2 separate regions of the Homo sapiens genome follow, and region 1 is linked to region 2. Evidence: promoter capture Hi-C in human tissues and cell types (Jung and others, 2019). All regions are on one chromosome and are shown on one strand. Each heading gives the region's core, a stretch centred on a gene start or on the middle of the fragment in contact. The rest is flanking DNA. Distances are from core to core; before and after follow the strand shown. Region 1 overlaps P2RX4 (purinergic receptor P2X 4). Region 2 holds the start of SETD1B (SET domain containing 1B, histone lysine methyltransferase).

Region 1 (5,066 bases), core at 2,230-4,729, 590 kb after region 2:
GCTCATTAGCTCGGTCTCCTCTCTGGGGACCCCACAAGACCCTTCTCTTGAGAAGGCAGGGGGAAGAACACACCTGAAGAAAGAGTTTCTGGAGTTCTTGTTTTCCCTGGCAAGAGCTCTGAGCCAAGAGTTGGCAGCTTATCTCTACTGGTCGCCCTCGGTCCCTTAGCACATAGGCCATCTGGAGGGCTATGTCGGGTTTGACTGTGTGGTGCAGAGCTGTTACCAGGACTAAAGAGTCAATGTTTAACTTGGAGCTTTGCAGATTAACAGCCTGAAGACTAGTATGCAGCAGTAAACAATGTCTTCCCTTCCTTTCGCTCCCGATGGAGTCCTGTGCTGCTGTCTCTGTTTCCTTCTTGTTTGGGTTTTGGTCTCTAATGGTCTCTAATTCTTTTCTTTTTTTTTCTTTTTTTTTTTTTTTATAGAGATGGGGTTTCACCACATTGCCCAGGCTGGTCTCAAACTCCTGGGCTCAAGGTATCTGCCCGCCCCAGCCTCCCAAAGTGCTGGGATTACACACGTGAGCTACTGTGCCCGGCCTAAAGTTTTTACACTGTCTGAAAAGATTTACCTCGTGTATTTGGGACAATAATGCAAACCCAAAATGTGGAAAGGTGATATTTCCACTTGAATTTCTATCAGGATTTAAGACATTTGTTTTCTCATCTTTCAGGGCTTTCAGCCTGCCATGCTTTCAAGCTGAGGAACCACAGCTGCCTGGATACACTCTGTTAGATCCTAAGCTGAAAAGAGATCTGGCTGCACCGTTTTCTTGGACTAAAACAATCATTCTGGGCATTGGTGATGTCAGGACTCAGGCCACGTCAATCATTAATCAAGTGTGCAAAGTCAGTAAAGAGCAAGGTGTCAGTGTTAGACAGAAGACACAGTGGGAGACACACCTGAGCTGGTATCACATAATCCGCCACATCCCAGATCCGGAATCCAAGTTTAGAAGTGTTGGTCACAGCCACGCCCTTGACCTTGGTCGTAACGGAGCTGACCACGGAGTCAGTTTCCTGGTAGCCCTTTTCCCACACAAACACCCACCTATAAAATAAAACAGGCCTCTTAAATTGCCATTAGGATTCAATGGATTTGAATTGATGGGGAAGCTTCTGCTGGCCAGTGGCTGGAAGTACGATGTTGACTAATTACATGACTTTCTACAAGCTACGTACCTTCTAGGGGACTCCATTTCCACTTCTGCCAAATGGGGATGGTAGCACCTAAACCACAGGAGGGTTTGCGGGAAATAAATGAGATGGTGCAGGTAAAGCACTCAGCACACTGATGGCACAGAGAAAACGCTCGATGAATACTGTCTTTATTACATTTGAGCATTTTCTCTTTTTTTTTTTTTGAGACGATGTTTCGCTCTTGTTGCCTAAGCTGGAGTGCAATGGTGTGATCTTGGCTCACTGCAACCTCCGCCTCCCGGGTTCAGGCAATTCTCCTGCCTCAGCTTCCCAAGTAGCTGGGATTACAGGCATGCGCCAACACGCCTGGCTAATTTTGTATTTTTAGTAGAGACGGGGTTTCACCATGTTGGCCAGGCTGGTCTCGAACTCCTGACCTCAGGTGATCCACCCACCTCGACCTCCCAAAGTGCTGGGATTACAGGCGTGAGCCACTGCACCTGGCCCTTTGAGCACTTTCAATGCCTGTGACCTATGGGAATCACCAAGAGATAATACAAATTATAACAGTTACCACTGGAGTGTTTATAGGCACCAGGCACTGATCTAAGCTCTTTATATGTATTAACTCATTTAATCCTGACCACTTTATGAGACAGGTATCATTATTATTATTTCCATTTTACAGAGGAGGAAATGGAAACACAGAGAGGTTAAGTCACTTGCCAAAGGTCACACAGCTAGTGAGTGGCAGAGTCAGGATTTGAACTCAAGCCAGAAGCATCTGAAGCCTCTTCTCTCACCCACTATGCTCTACTCTAAGCTTGTCTAACCCATAGCACACAGGCCGCATGCGGCCCAGGATGGCTTTGAATGAGGCCCAACACAAATTCGTAAACTTTCTTAAAACGTTATGAGATTTTTTTTTGTGTGATCAAAAAAAGTTTGTTTTTTAGCTCATCAGCTATTGTTAGTGTTAGCATATTTAATGTGTGGCCCAAGATAATTTCTCCTTCCAGTGTGGCCCACGAAAGCCAAAAGATTGGACAACCCTAGGCTACTCTTTCTAGAAAAGAGAATTCTACCCTTTAAGGAACTTTTAAGAGTAGTTTCTTACTTTTCCCCCAAGAATTCTGGTCACATATATGGTTCTCTCCTCTGAAGTGGGACTATGACTACCAGTTTGAACAATTAAAAATCCAAAGGGGCTGGGTACAGTGGCTCACGCCTGTAATCCCAGAACTTTGGGAGGTCAAGGGGGGAAGATCATTTGTGCCCAAGAGCTCGAGACAAGCCTGGGCAACATAGGGATCTCTACAAAAAATAAAAAATTAGCCGGGCATGGTCAGTTTTGATTATAGCAAGATGGACAAAAGCAAAGCATTTACTGCTTTAAAGATTCTCGTGACTGAGACAGTGAATACGTCATAAGGAATCCTACAGAGCTGTGCTGTCCAATAAAAATCCCGGCTATTTGGGAGGCTGAGGTGGGAGGATCACTTGAGCCTGGGAGACGGAGGCTGCAGTGAGCTGTGATGCCACCGCACTCCAGCCTGGGCGACAGGGCAAGGCTCTGTCTCAAAAAAAAAAAAAAAAAAAAAACCATCTACAGGCATTAGCTTATAGGGGTTAGGACAGACTGGAGGCAGAGGTCTTGGTTCATGGCTCAGCTCCACCATTCACGAGGCATAACTTTGGCCAAGGTGCTTAACCTCATTGTGCCTCAGTTTTTCCCATCTATAATCTGGGAATGATAGTAGATCTTCACAGGATTCTTGTGAGGGTAAAAGAATTAATGTAGGTCAAATGTTTACAACAATGTTTGTGAGTCATCGTTGGTCACAGAGCAAGTACTGACACCGTGGAAATTGGCCAGTACTACAAATCAGAACCCCTCCCCTTCGAACTGCTGTTAAACATCTACTAGAGACTATCAGTGTTGTTATTTATAGAATCAGGAAATGCTAGGCTTCTCCTTCTTCTAAGTCCTAGATGCTGAGACTTCAGAAATTCACTGGTTTTGTTGAGGTCAGGAGTCCAAGACCAGCCTGGCCAACATTGTGAAACCCCGACTCTACTAAAAATACACAAAATTAGCTGGGTGTGGTGGTGGGTGCCTGTAGTCCCACATACTCGGGAGGCTGAGGCAGGAGAATCACTTGAACCCGGGAGGTGGAGATTGCAGTGGGCTGAGATCATGCCACTGCACTCCAGCCTGGGCAAGAGTGAGACTCTGTCCCTCCACCAAAAAAAAGAAAAGAAATTAATGGTTTTGTTACTTATGAGTGTGTGTGATCGAGCAGTCTCCAAGTTCATTGCCCAGCCTAGAGATGGGCTTTCCCCCCATGGGCTTTTCCCCTGACAAGTCCAGGGCTTCTAGGAATTCAGCTGCAGTGTAAGCTTCCATTTAATTCCAGTCTGACACACAAAAGCTTGGGGCAGGAAGACTGATGTACTCATCAAGTACAGTGAGTTGCTTAATTTAGAGACACAGGGTTTCATGCCACTCATTATCATGTGATTATTTCCTCCTCATATGATTGTTAACAGAGTTAGATAGATGAGAATTGCGTGTTCGGTCTTTTTTTGAGGGAGGGTTGCTGTAGGAGGAGACCACAATTTCACTAAGATGAGTTGCATCAAAAAGTTAAGAGATGAGGTTAAAAAAAAAAAGAGCCTTAATGCAGGTCCTGAGTCAGTTTTGATTATAGCAAGACGGACAAAAGCAAAGCATTTACTGCTTTAAAGATTCTCATGACCGAGATAGTGAATGCGTCATAAGGAATCCTACAGAGCTGCGCTGTCCCATAAAAACATAACGCGAGCCACATATTTTTTTTTTTGAGACAGGCTCTCGCTCTGTCGCCCAGGCTGAAGTGCAGTGGCACAATCTTGGCTCACTGCAACCTCCGCCTCCCAGGCTACAGCAATCCTCCCACCTCAGCCTCCCAAGTAGCTGGGTCCACAGGTGTGCGCCACTATGCCAAGCTAATTTTTCGTATTTTTGGTAGAGATGGGGTTTCACTACGTTGCCCAGGCTGGTCTCAAAATTCCTAAGCTCAAGGGATCCACTTGCCTCAGCCTCCCAAAGTATTGGGATTACAGGCGTGAGCTACCACAGGGCAAGACCCTGTAATTTAAAAGTTTCTAGTAGCCATGTCAAAAAGTAAAAAGAAATAGAAAGGGCTGGGCACGGTGGCTCATGCCTGTAATCCCAGCACTTTGGGAGGCCGAGGCAGACAGATTGCTAGAGCTCAGGAGTTCGAGACCAGCCTGGGCAACATGGAAACCTCATGATTGTAGAGATGAGATTTCTCATCTGTACAAACAAACAAACAAAAACACAATAATTAGCCAGTCATGGTGGTGTGCACCTGTAGTCCCATAATTCCAGAGGCTGAGATGGTAGAATCACTTGAGCCTGGGAGGCAGAGGTTGCAGTGCATTGCACTCCAGTCTGGGTGACAAAGCAAGGCGCCGTTTAAAAAGAAAAAAAGAAAAAAGAGACAGGAAAAATTAATTGTAATGATATATTCTGTGTAACCCAATATATCCAAAATATTTTAACATGTCATCAATAAAAAATGTTTTCATGTGATAGTGGTACTCTTTGTTTTTTTGAGACAGTGTCTTGCTCTGTTGCCCAGGCTGGAGGGTGGTGTGATCACAGCTCTCTGTGGCCTCAACCTCCCAGGTTCAAGCAGTCCTTCTGCCTCAACCTCCCAAATAGGTAGGCCTATAGGCGTGTGCCACCATGCCAGGCTAATTTTTGTATTTTTTTGTAGAGGCAAGGTCTCGCTATGTTGCCCAGGTTTGTCTCAAACTCTTGAGCTCAAGCGATCTTCCCACCTCAGCCTCCCAAAGTACTGTGATTTCAGGCATGAGCCACTGTGCCCAGCCTCTTTTTCTGTACTATGTCTTTGA
Region 2 (2,962 bases), core at 1-2,500:
GAGGTGGGGGAGGGACGGCGGGGCAGTGGGGAGGGGTCCTACCTTGAATTTGGGCACCGACAGCTCCAGCTCCTTGTTTTTGGTCCAGATCCCGACGACCCGGGGATCTTCGACAATTTCCACCGGGCGGTTGCTGGACATCTGTGGGGAGAAATTGGGGGGCCGGGATGAGAGAACTGGTCCCCCTCCCCATGGGCAGACCCCTTTCTCGAGGCACTTGTCAAACTCCAGGGCTGGGGCCCCGTCTGACAGTTGGCCGGGGGATCGGGCGGGGGGTCCCTGGCCGCTAGGCGCGTCTCCCCGGACACGACGCGGGGCACGGCTGGGGGGGCGCGCCGGCTACTCACCGCCAGGCTGAAATGCTGCCCATCGTAGCGGTACAGTTTATGATGCCCCTTTTTCAGAGCCGGGTCAATCATCAACTTGTAACTTCTCCAATGGTGGTTCCTCCTCTCGCCCGAAGGGCCGGGCTGCGGCGGGGGCTGCTGGTGGTGGTGGTGGGGGGGGTGACTGTTCTCCATGCCGTTAACCCAACCTGAAAACCAGCAAGTTGTTGTCGTCTCCGCCGCGGCGGCGGCGGCGGCCGCTTCTACACACACGCGAAAGAATCCAATCGGCAGGCCCCCACCCCCTCCCACCTTGCCAGCGCGCCCCGAAAGGAGCTGTCTCGCTGGCTCCCCCCAAAACAAGAATGGAGCGAGAGAATAACCCTTCCGGGAGAATTACGCGCCCGCCCGCTCGGCCACCGTCTCGGGGCGGCAGCGAGGGGCTCCCGGGGGTCCCCTGGGCGGGCTGGCGGGGCCCGGGGCGCCCGGAGGACGCGGACTCCGGCCCATGGTGCCCGCCCGGCCGCCCGGCGTGGCGCTCACCCGCTAGCTCGGCCCGGCTCTGGCGCGAGGCTGGCGGCAGGGCCTGGCGGCGCCGCCGCCCGCCCGCCCGCTCGCCCGCTCGGGCCAGGGCCGGGGCCGGGGGCTTGGGCCGCCCGGCTGCCGGCCGCGGCCTCTCCCTCCCCGAGCCGCGCTTACATCCCCGCCGGGCGCCGGCCTCCCTGCGCCGCCAGCCAGTACATGGTGTCCCCCGAGGGAGCCGAGGCCGGGGCGGCCGGACCGGGGGCCAGGAAGGGGGGGCGCCGCCGCCGCGGCTGCCGGGCCCGGAGCTGCTGCCGCTGCCGCCGCCGCTGCTGCTGCTGCTGCCCGGGAGGCGGCTGGCGGCGGAGGCTCGGCTCCCAGTAGCCGCACATCCCACAATACACCGCTAAGGAGCCCGACCCGAGCGCTCACCCTCCTCCTCTTCCTCCTCCTCCTCCTCTTCCTCCTCCCCTCTCCTTCCTCGCCGCTTCCCCAGGCACTCTCCCGGCGGCGGCAGCTGCGCCGCCAAAGCCCCGGGCCCCAGCGGCCCCCCACCCCTCACTCGCGCGCTCCCACACTGCCTCCCCCTCCCCGGGGGAAGGCCTTTTAATTTATTTATTTTTCTGGGACTGGGGTGGGGGTCTTGGCTGGCGGGGGAGGGGGTCTCCCCGGGCTCTACCTCCCGCGGCCGGGACTACCCTCAGAGCCGCGACCGCCGCGGCGTGCGTCCCGGGCCTGCAAAACTGTTTCCAAACTGCCCGGGCCGGAGGCGGGCGCGCGGGGCCCGGGGAGATGGCTGGGGTCTGGGGGGCCGAGGGTGTGTGTGGACGCTGGGAGCCGCGGGGGGAGGCCGGCGTCGACTCAGAGGAGTTGCAATCGAGGTATCTGCGCTCCGGCTTCCTCCTGCGGCCCGCGACCCCCTCCCCGGAGCTGAGCTGGGGAAGGGAGACCAGGGTTCACCACGTTAGCATTCGCATTCCTGGGAGGATGCAGCCCTCGCCTGGACCTGGGCGATAGACGCCTTCTTCTGTTTTTATTTTTGGAGGGGAGCGCCCTGTAATTGTCCTGAACACATGCTTCCCCCCCTTCCTCCAGCCACCCGCGGAGGAGAGAGTCCCCCTTTTTTGCATTTATCTTTTCCTTCCCCTTTCTTTATTAAAGGTCCGGGAGTGGCGGCGGCCAATCAGCGCGCGGCTTCCATTTTGTGAGTTCAACTCCGAGGCTCCCGGGCTTCGCGAGGACGCGTTTGCAGCCCCCTCTGCCGCTCCTCTCTGGCGGCCGAGGCGCAGGAGCCGCCTCGCCGGGGCTCGGAGCTGGTGTAGCTCATATTGGGGCTCTTTTCGGGGTTTGTAATTTGGCCGTGGGTAGGTAATTGGCTGGAGCAGGGCGGCAGGGCGCGGCAGCCAATCAGCGCGCGGCTTCTATAGGGCTTGAGTTATTAGACGCTGATCTCAAAACATCCTTCATCAGACACGAAGGAGAGGCCAACAGATGAGGGAAGCCATTTTTCTGCAATGGAATTAAATGGCCAAGTGGGTTTTTCCTTTGTTGCAAATGGGGAATGTTTTTCCTTTGACTCTACCATCCAGTTCAGGACGTCTCAGTGTGTTTAACATTTGTCAACAGGCCCAAGGACTCACAGTTGGAAGACTGGAGAAGACTTTTTAAAAAGATCTGGATTTTTCCTTATGACTTGGAATCCATCTTTGTCTTGTATAACTAGGTCATAGCACACCATTCATGTCAGCAGTTAACAGTTTTGAATTCCAAAAAAACCTAAGTAAATGACATATTTTTTTTCCTCTTTTTGTTCTATGGGTGGGTGGGGGGAGCTTGGAGCTGTCTTAATCTGTATTCTCTTGACTGAACAATAAATTTTTAAATATATCTAGTTTCCTCTATTAAACACTTAAACCTGGCCATCTTATTAACTCCTTCTCTCTTTTTAACAAGGTAATGTTTTAAATGTATATAGCTTTAGGACTAGCGAAATGGCAGCAACAAAAAATTGTGAGCAGTTGTTACTCTTTTAGTTTTTAAAAAACCTTTTACATTGTAAGTACCCAATCCATTCTGTCCTGACGCAGTACAGTTTTGATGTTAATGTTGCTGAG

Evidence for each region. The method cuts DNA at HindIII sites, captures the fragments that hold promoters and counts their contacts. A contact is called where the count stands out against the background at its distance.
Region 1: a contact is called between a fragment that was not itself captured here and the fragment with the promoter of SETD1B in region 2, in 1 of the 25 tissues and cell types used here (dorsolateral prefrontal cortex).

What each region holds. Positions count from the first base shown.
Region 1 is chr12:121,213,121-121,218,186 of GRCh38, reverse strand. P2RX4 (purinergic receptor P2X 4) reads right to left here. Exons shown (of 12, transcript NM_002560.3): 2 at 906-1,053. Among named protein-coding and RNA genes, the nearest start is that of P2RX4, 5.5 kb to the right of the region's middle. The HindIII fragment of the contact is 3,874 bases long and covers 1,543-5,066 here.
Region 2 is chr12:121,802,297-121,805,258 of GRCh38, reverse strand. It overlaps SETD1B (SET domain containing 1B, histone lysine methyltransferase), which reads right to left and starts at 1,250. Exons shown (of 17, transcript NM_001353345.2): 1 at 1,026-1,250; 2 at 348-535; 3 at 43-141. The coding sequence starts at 521. It overlaps LINC01089 (long intergenic non-protein coding RNA 1089), which reads left to right and starts at 2,313. Exons shown (of 4, transcript NR_152740.1): 1 at 2,313-2,628. RefSeq lists silencers at 956-1,015, 1,056-1,185, 1,456-1,705. The HindIII fragment of the contact is 28,947 bases long and covers 1-2,962 here.